Linked DNA regions of Homo sapiens: region 2 is linked to region 1. Evidence: promoter capture Hi-C in 16 types of primary human blood cells and fetal thymus (Javierre and others, 2016). All regions are on one chromosome and are shown on one strand. Each heading gives the region's core, a stretch centred on a gene start or on the middle of the fragment in contact. The rest is flanking DNA. Distances are from core to core; before and after follow the strand shown.

Region 1 (4,771 bases), core at 1,112-3,611:
TCAACTCGAAACCGTCTGAGCCTTCATCTGTACAGTGCGGATGAAAACAGCTCCTACCTCACAACATTATTGTGAGGATTAAATGAAATGATGTAAGAAAAAAAAATTTAGCACAGGGTAGGGGGCAGAGTAAGGATACTCTGTGTGGGTTTATACATTTCCAATGTTATGTGTGCGTTTATGCAGATAAAATTCAGAGTGGCTGAAGAGATGAATTTTTTTTTTTTTTTTTTGAGACAGTGTCTTACTCTCACCCAGGAGTGCAGTGTTGTGATCGCAGCTCACTGCAGCCTCTACTTCCTGGGCTCGGGTGATTCTCCCACCTTAGTCTCTCAGGTAGCTGGGACTACAGGCGTGTGCCACCATGCCCAGCTAATTGTTATTTGTAGAGATGGGGTTTTGCCATGTTGCCCAGGCTGGTCTCAAACTCCCGCGCTCAAGTGATCCTCCTGCCTCGGCCTCCCAAATTGCTGAGATTACAGGTGTGAGCCATGCCCTGCCATGAAAAGACTAACTCTAGACTGCAATGGCTTTGAATAATTTTCTAAACGTTTAGAGTTTAGATTTTATTCCGTATCACAATTTGGAGCCACGGAAGTGTTTTTTTGTTTGTTTTTTGTTTTTTAAAGTGACACCATTAAAAATTCATTAAATACAGCTGGCTATTATCTGGCTAGACGTCTAAGCAAACTTCTTGAATGTTTGGAAAACAGATTACACTTTCACTAAGACACCTGTTGGTTTACCACATACTTCTTATTTGAATATGATTAGCATCAGAAAGTCCCTATGCTCAAAAATACCTCTTTTATCAAATTAGATTAACAAACTGCATCCCGTAAGATGCAGTAACTTTTCTTAAGATCCAATGGCTAGAATATAGGAATTTGGGTTGGATTGGGAAGTGGGGGATAACGGTGGCAAAAAATTGAAGATTAAAAAACGAAATACAGGCCGGGTGTGGTGGCTCACGCCTGTAATCCCAGCACTTTGAGTGGCTGAGACGGGCGGATCACGTGAGGTTAGGAGTTTGAGACCAGCCTGGCCAACATGATGAAATCCTGTCTCTACTAAAAATACAAAAATTAGGAGGGTGTGGTGGCAGGCGCCTGTAATCCCAACTACTCAGGAGGCTGAGGCAGGAGAATCGCTTGAGCCCAGGAGGCGGAGGTTGCAGTGAGCCGAGATTGTGCCACTGCACTCCAGCCTGGGCGACAGAAGGAGACTCCGTCTCAAAAATAACGAATTACATGAGATTTATAAAAAGTTGGTAAATATAAATTCTGTAACGTAAACTTGGGTATATATGTGTATACACGAACAAACTGTGAATGAGACTGATTTTGTACCGTTTGGCCCAGAATTATTCACGCTCATTGAAATTAGTGCTCTTTTAAAAGATTCACATTGGGTTACTTATACATTTACTCCAAAGAAATTGCCATTTTCCCCTTACCTGCATCTGGCTGGCATAATCAACTGAACAATATTCTCTTTCTTCCCCTTTTTCACTTACAAGTGGGGCAGAAAGGGGAGGAGAGCAGTCCTCATTCTTTCAGCAAACTTACTGTGCACTTACAACGCGCGAAGGCGCTGTGCTCAGAGAAACAAAACCTAACCGGTTGTGGCCCTCGAGGGTGTGTGGGTGGGGAGAGCTGCAGCCACAGGAAACGGTAACACGGCGCGTAAAGGGCTCTAATTGAACTTAAGGACCAATGGGGCCACCAAGCAGGAAGTGACTGACTTGCCCGCGTGTGTCTGAACCGCCTTCACAGGGAGGCAACTTTTGAGTAATTGCGGGGCTGGAGGGTGGGGGCACTGGAGGGAACCGCGGGGAGGCGCCGGCTTCGGACGCGGAGTTGTGGGTGTGGGAGAGAGGCGACCCAGAAGCCGAGGCCCGAGGCGGGAGGGGGCTGCGCCCTGGCAAGAGGCTTTCCGGAGTATCTTCCATCTGTCAATACAGGCTACAGGACTCAGTGGCCCTAATTCGAGAACCAAACGTCCCCCGCCGGTCAGTCTTTTCCCCCAGGGCAGTCCCAAGGGCGGCGAGCCCGCGCGCACGAGAGCCGAGCGGTAGGAAGAGCCGAGAGCTAGCGGCCGGGGCCTCGGCGGGCCAGGGGCGCGGAGAGGCCGCCGGAGAAAGGACTAAGACACCGGTGGACCGAGCAGTTACTCCCGGCATGCTCCTCCTCCCCGGGCAGATTTCAAACCCTCTGCAGCCCCACCTCCGCGCCTTCGCCCCCGGCCAGCCCCAGCAACAGGCGGCGGCCCGCTTCTCATTGGCCAGGCCCGCGCTGTCGTGTTTTGATTGGCCGCGGAGCCTCCCGGCCCTGCTTCTGCAGTCGCTGCCGACTCCATTTTGTCGGTAGAGGCAGAAGGAGAAGGTCGGGTTGTAGAAGCTGGGGTGGCCGGCAGCTCGCTCATCGGTGTTCGTGGGCTTTGTCGGTCCGTGCCTCGTCTCTCCCTGGAAAGGGAGGGAGGCTTCGACGTCGAGAGGGAGCCGCTGCCGCGTTAGTTCCGAGCTTGAAGTCAGTAAGTAGCGGCTGCGCTAAGGGCGCGGCCATGTTGGTGGCCGCGCTCCCCATTGTTGGAGGAAGGAGGCGAGCGGAGGCGAGATCCGGGTAACCCGGGCGGGCGCGGGCGGTCACGGGCGGTCGCAGCGCCGCGACCCCTGCGGCTCCGGAGAGATGGGGCCACTGGGAAGCCAAGCCCTTGTGGCGTCGGAGGAGGCGTTTTCCGGGTTCGAGTTGGGAATTACTCACAGTCCGGAAATGGCAATTTATTTAGGGTTGTTTATCTGTTTGGAAAGCTCTCTTACCCCTTTGAAAGGAGGGGGCTTAACTATTTGGTAACTTATTTTCTTGGAACATCAAATTAAAACCAAACCTTGAAAGTTAAGCTGTTCCCTCTAGGGAGACATTTTTATATATTTAAGATGGGCTTAGACTGTTAGGGCTTGTGAGAACTTATTTTAAGACGGGGAGGAGGCGAGAGCGTTCATAACCAAAGGAAACACTGCGTGATGTCTACATGTTCCAAGAGACTGAAAATGGATGTGACATGTGTGGAAAGATTGGAAAATTCTGGTGGGAGTTTAAAAACACGGTCTCTTTAGAAAATCCGCCTGAAGCCAATTTTTTGATATGACTCAACATTTAACACTTCCTTGATTTTATACGCGAGAGAATCTGAAGGTCTTTCCCAGGAAAAAGATAAAGATAAAACTTATTGCGGGACTTGGAGACACTTACAAAAATTCCCCAGGAGTGACTGGATCTCAAGGGTGAAGAGTTTTTTTAAATGGTCGTGGTTATAAGGTCAAAGAAAGCCATCTTACGAGAAATTTTCTACCTTTTAGTTCAGGAAGTAGCCTTCTTTACAGTCAACGATTTTCGTAGTAAATCTAAATGATCACTTTCTCAACGTGTTTTTGAAATAATGAAGTAATCTTTACTTTTCTAGCTAGGACTTCTCTCAAACTTGTGTGCTGAGGAGACTCAGATGTTGGCCTCAGCTCCTAGGCTGAACTCAGCAGATCGGCCCATGAAAACTTCTGTATTGAGACAAAGGAAGGGATCTGTCAGAAAGCAACACTTGTTATCTTGGGCTTGGCAGCAAGGAAGAGGACAGGTAGTGGAGATCCTGCAATCTGAAAAGCAGACTGAAAGGTAATCATCATAATGGGCAAACATTTTATGATGGAACCATCCTAAACCAATTGTTTTTATTTTAAAATAGATTATGTAGATTTGTGGGTAAGCTCATTTTTCTTAGGGAAGGTATAACAATAAAGGTTGTGCATATATTGAAGTCTGAACGGCTTGCTTTTTTGAGTTTAAAGCAGCTGAATAGCCTGTTATTGAGTCTTGTCCAAAATATCTGGAGTTATAAGTTGGAGCCATAGAAGCTTCTTAAAGATTTTGAACTTTTCTTAATGGAATTTTACTCAATATTTGTTTCCATTCACTTGTAGGTGACAAAGAAGCTGAAGATGGGTGGTGGAGAGAGGTATAACATTCCAGCCCCTCAATCTAGAAATGTTAGTAAGAACCAACAACAGCTTAACAGACAGAAGACCAAGGAACAGAATTCCCAGATGAAGATTGTTCATAAGAAAAAAGAAAGAGGACATGGTTATAACTCATCAGCAGCTGCCTGGCAGGCCATGCAAAATGGGGGGAAGAACAAAAATTTTCCAAATAATCAAAGTTGGAATTCTAGCTTATCAGGTCCCAGGTTACTTTTTAAATCTCAAGCTAATCAGAACTATGCTGGTGCCAAATTTAGTGAGCCGCCATCACCAAGTGTTCTTCCCAAACCACCAAGCCACTGGGTCCCTGTTTCCTTTAATCCTTCAGATAAGGAAATAATGACATTTCAACTTAAAACCTTACTTAAAGTACAGGTATAAAATAAGACAAATGTTTAAATTTAGTTATGTTCACGGATAGTTGTCAATTGGTCTGAAACAAATTCGCTAGGGAATCTATTTGTGTAGAACTAATTAATGTAAAAAAAATAGACCATCTCGTGTTGTGTGCACTGTGATATAATGGTAGTATCAGTGCAACTTAAACTAATGATTGTACTTGATATTAAGTGTTCTCAACTGAGTAACTTTTAAGTGGAAACCAAGTTTAGATTTGGGGAGTGGTAAAGGAATCAGCTTTTTCTATTGTTAGGGGAAGACAGTAATTTATCATTCATGGACCAGTAGATTGTTGAAAGTTGGTGAATCGGATTATAAGCTTCTAGCTAACACAAGGATTCA
Region 2 (4,961 bases), core at 1,774-4,273, 440 kb after region 1:
AAAATATACTGTTTTAAGGTTCTTCTACTATATGTGAAGTGTTATAATATCACTTGATGGTAGACCATGATAAGTTAAAGATATATACTATAAACTCTAAAGTATGTAGGGATCAACGAACTTTTTCTAAGGGCCAGATAGTACATATCTGTCTATCTATCTATCCATCTATAGCTATCTATCTATCTATCTATCTATCTATCATCTATCTATCTTATTGATCTATATTTTGAGACAGGGTCTTGCTCTGTTGCCCAGGTTGGAGTGCAGTGGTGCAGTCATAGTTCATTGCAGCCTTGACCTCCTGGGCTTAAGCAATCCTCCTGCCTCAGCCTCCCAAAGTTCTGGGATTGCAAGTGTGAGCCACCATGCCTGGCTAGATAGTAAATATTTTAGTCTTTGCAGTCTATTTATTCTCTGTGGCAACTATTCAGTGCTGCCATTATGGAGTAAAAGCAGCCACAGACAATACATAAACAAACTGGGGTGGCCGTGTTCCAATAAAACTTTATTAATAGAAATAGGCAGTGGGTCAGATTTGGTCCAAGGAGCAAAGTTTGCCAACTGTTGCTTTAAGGTAACCACTAGGAAAATACTACAAGGAGTTATTCCTAATAGGCTAACAAAGGAGATAAAATTGAAGCATTAAAAATAATACAAGAGACAGAGAAAAGGTAAATAAAGAACAGATGGGACGAATAGAAAGCAAGTCACAAGATGATAGACTTAAACTTATACACCAATAATCACATTAAATGTAAATAATCTAAATATCCCAATTAAAAAACAGAGATTCTCAGATTGGATAAGAAAGAAAGACCCAACTATATGTTACCTTGGAGAAACATACTTGAAATATAAACTCAGAAATAAGTTAAAAGTAAAATAATGGAAAAAGATTTACTATGCTAACACTAATCAAAAGATAGTTAGATATTATCAGATAAAGTAGATTTCAGAGCAAAAAATATTACCTGCAATAAAGAGGGTCATTTCATAATGGGGTCATTATGAGCAGTCAGCTCCTCAAGAGAACATAACAGTCCTAAATGCTGATGTACCCAATAAAAAGAGATTGAAAATATAAGAAGCAGAAACTGATAAAACTGCGAGAAAAAATAGAAAATTTCACAATTATAGTCAGAGATCTCAAAACATCTCCCTCGATAATTTAAACAAGTAGATAGATCAGTAAAGATATATGAAACCTGAACAAAACTATTACCTAACCTGACCTAATTGGCATTTATAGAACACTCCACCTATCAATTCCATACAAGCTGTCCCAGAAAACTGAAGAGGAAAAGACATTTCCAAACTCATTCAATGAGGCAACCACTACCTGATACCAAAACTATATGGCATCATTACAAGAGGGAAAAAGATCACTAGAGGTCAGCAGCCCTCATAAACATAAATACATAAATCCTTAGAAAAATTTTAGCGAATCAAACCAGACAATATATAAAAAGATAATACATCGTGACCAACCCCAGTAATGCAAAAATAGTTTAATATTTAAAAATCAATATAATTCATCATATTAACGGACTAAAAAAGAAAAACCATACGAGTATCTCAACAGATTAAAAAAATCATATACCTGTAACATGTACTCTTTTTGTCTGGCTTCTTTCACTCAGCATAATTACTATGAGATTCATCTCTGTTGCTGATATATCAATACTCCATTGCTTTTTATTGTTGAGTAATATTCCATTGTATAAAAACATGATGTTTATTCACTGGTGATGTAAATTTGAGTTGTCGCCAGTTTGGGGGCATTACAAATAAAACTGCTATGAGCATTTTATCTACAAGTCTTTAAATGGACATAAGCTTTCATTTTGCGGGGTAAATGCCTAGGAGTGGAATGACTAGATCATATGTTTAACTTTTTAAAAAACTGTCAAACTATTTTTCATAGTCGTTGTACTTTTGCACATCCCCACTATTAGCGTATGAAAATTTCTATGACTTCACATTCTTATCAGCAATGGGAAGTCTTTTTAATCTCAGGCATCCCATTAGGTATGTAATGGTATCTCATTATGGTTTTAATTTGCATTTCCCTAATGACTAATGATGCTAAGCAGTCCTTCATATGCTATTTTCCCTCTGTATATCTTTTTTTTGGTGAAGTAACTGTTTAGTAGATACAGAAAAAGCTTTTCATAAGATCTAATATCCTTTGATGATTAAAAGAAAAACTCTAGCAAACTAGGAATAGGAGCAAACTTTGTTAATCTGATAAAAGGTGTCTATAACAAAAGCCTATAGCAAACAGGATACCAAATTGTGAAATATTAAAGGCTTTCCCTTGAGACAGGGAGTGAAACTAGTACAACTGCTATTATCCTTCTATTCAACGTTGTACTGAAGGTCTCTAGCCAATACAAACGCCTACATAAAATATATTAAAAATACATAAAATATATGGATGAGAAAGGAAGAAATAAAGTTGTCATTTTCACAGATTACAAGATTGTGTATGGGGAAATTGCAAAATAATCTGTGGACACCCTATAAGAGGTAATAGTTGGATTTAGTGAGGTCACCAGAATCAAGGTCAATATACAAAAATCAATTAATTTTTTTGTACAGCAGCAACAAACAATTTAAAATAAAATTTAAAATTACCATTTATAACAGCATAAAAATCAAATGCCTACAATAGATATAATGAAGATATGCAAGACTTCTACATAGAAAACTCCAAAACATTGAGAACAATTTAAGGTAACTTAAATAAAAGGATCTATACATGGATTAGAGAAGTTAATATTTATTGTAAAGATGTAAATTATCCTTAAATTGATTTCTAGAATCAATGCAATCCAAATTAAAATGAGAGTAGAGTTTTTTTAAGACATTAATAAGCTGATTGTAAAATTTGTATAGCTACCCAGATTTGATCATCGCACATTATATTCTTGTATCAAAATATCATGTGTGCACCATAAATATGTACAACTATTATGTATCCATAAAAATTAAAAATAAAAAAGTAAAATAAATTTATATGGAAATGCACTGGGGTCAAGAATAGCCAGCATAAACAAAGAAGTACAAAGTTGAAGGGCTTATGCTACTAAAGAGTTATTATAAAGTTACAGTAATTAGGACAGTATGATATTTGAACAGAATAAATAATCAAGAAGCAGAGCTGCATATGCCTGGACACTTGATTTATGACAAAGGTAGCAACAGCAATACAGAGTAGTAGAGAATGAGCAGCCTTTCAATAAATGGTGCTGGGTCAACATGGAAAACAACAGACTCGGGCATCTTCCTCAATCAAAAACAATTTCAAGTGAATTGTAGATCTAGATGTAAAAGGTAAAATAATAGAGTTTCTAGAAGAAACTATCTTGGGATGGGCAAAGATTTCTTAAGTATTAATAAAATAGACATGTACACTAAACATAAAGAGACTGATAAATTGGGCTATATTAAAATCAAGAGTTTCTGTGTCTTAGCACATTGTTAAGAGAGTGAAAAGGAAAGTCCCAGGATAAGGGATGACATTTACCTACAGCTAACAAATGACTTGTTTCTAGAATAAAGAATCCCTATAAATAAGAAAAGGACAGAATGGTTTAAAGAACTCCTATAAATAAAAAAAAGAAAAGACAAGACAAGACCCAGCAGAAGAAAATGGGCAAAAAAGTTGAACAGTCACTTCTCCAAAGAGAATATCCAAAAGGCCAGTCAACATGAAAAAGTGCTCAATCTCATTGATCTCAGGCAATGCAAATTAAAACTATTATGAGCTTAAAATGTTGGTGAGGATTTGGAGCAGCTGGAATTCACATACATTGCTTGTAAGGAGGTAAAATTGGCACAGCTACTTTGGAAAACTGTTTGGCAATATCAACTAAGCTTACCCTAAACATACCCTATGACCCAGCAGTTCCACTCCTCAGGTATAGACCCATGAAATACATAAATATGTGTCCCACAAGACAAGTACAAGAATAGTTACAGAAGTTTTTATTCATAATAGCCCCAAACTGGAAACAACCTAAATGTCCTTCAGTAGTAGAATAGATAAATAAATTGTGGTGTATTCAAACAAGAGTAATAAAATGAACAAATTACTCATAGATAAGACAAACCAACATGAAGTTAAATCTCTGAAACATAAGCCTGAGAGAAAAGAGCTCATATTGTATGATTCACATTTACATAACATTCAAAAACAAACTAAAGTTATTAATGATATGAGAAGTCAGGATAACCGTAGTGTTTACTTTTGCAGGGAAGGGAGATAATATCTGAGAAGGGACAAGGGCTTTTGAGATGCTGCTGACATTCTGTCTTGGTCTGAGAAGTTATTCCATAGGTGGTGTTTTCTTTGTGAATATTCATTAAGCTATACAATTAGGATTTGTGCACTTTTTCTGAATATATATTTATGCTTCAATTTAAAGAAATGTTAAAGAAAAAGAGAGTGCAAAATCAGAGGATAGGAGGAAGAAAGAGAGATCTCTCTGGATTTGAGAGCAGCAGCGACTCTGGAAGCCCACCAGGGAGGTGGTAACAGCCTCGAAAGAAAAAGCGCTGGAGCCTAGGGGGATCTCAAAATGAGGTTTCCTGTCTCAGCAATAATTCCTAAGCCACACTAACGAACCAGAACACTAGTTGGCGAACACTAGCAAAACCAAAGGGAGCACATGAGCTGGGACACTGGGGATCTCACCAATGTGGATGGTTGACCAATGACCTGAGTATTCCTCCCCACCCCAACCCAGCCTCCTGGGATCACACTAACTATTGGGAAAGTTCTGAACTTGAAACAATCACGAGGGAGATAGGATTTATGCTGATAATGGCTGGAGTTATCCTTTCCAACAACCCAGCAGAATGGGGACTTGCAGTCATAACTCAAGTTGAGTTCTAGGAAATAAAAAAAGATCTCTTACATATCTAAATTTGAGGATAGAGATTCTTACCAGATA

The links. Contacts are between HindIII fragments. The CHiCAGO score rates a contact against its expected background, and 5 or more counts as called.
Region 2: a fragment that was not itself captured here is called in contact with the fragment with the promoter of PNRC2 in region 1 in 1 of 17 cell types (M2 macrophages); the score reaches 5.3 in M2 macrophages.

The regions. Positions count from the first base shown.
Region 1 is chr1:23,957,467-23,962,237 of GRCh38, forward strand. It overlaps PNRC2 (proline rich nuclear receptor coactivator 2), which reads left to right and starts at 2,362. Exons shown (of 3, transcript NM_017761.4): 1 at 2,362-2,532; 2 at 3,463-3,668; 3 at 3,974-4,771. The coding sequence starts at 3,992. The coding sequence ends at 4,411. It overlaps LOC124903877 (a long non-coding RNA gene), which reads right to left and starts at 648. Exons shown (of 4, transcript XR_007065541.1): 1 at 636-648. RefSeq lists enhancers at 592-1,220, 1,399-1,458, 2,359-2,628 and silencers at 1,539-1,638, 2,049-2,158. The HindIII fragment of the contact is 4,127 bases long and covers 1-3,905 here.
Region 2 is chr1:24,396,097-24,401,057 of GRCh38, forward strand. The region is part of intron 2 of STPG1 (sperm tail PG-rich repeat containing 1); the gene reads right to left. Among named protein-coding and RNA genes, the nearest start is that of STPG1, 15 kb to the right of the region's middle. The HindIII fragment of the contact is 1,714 bases long and covers 2,167-3,880 here.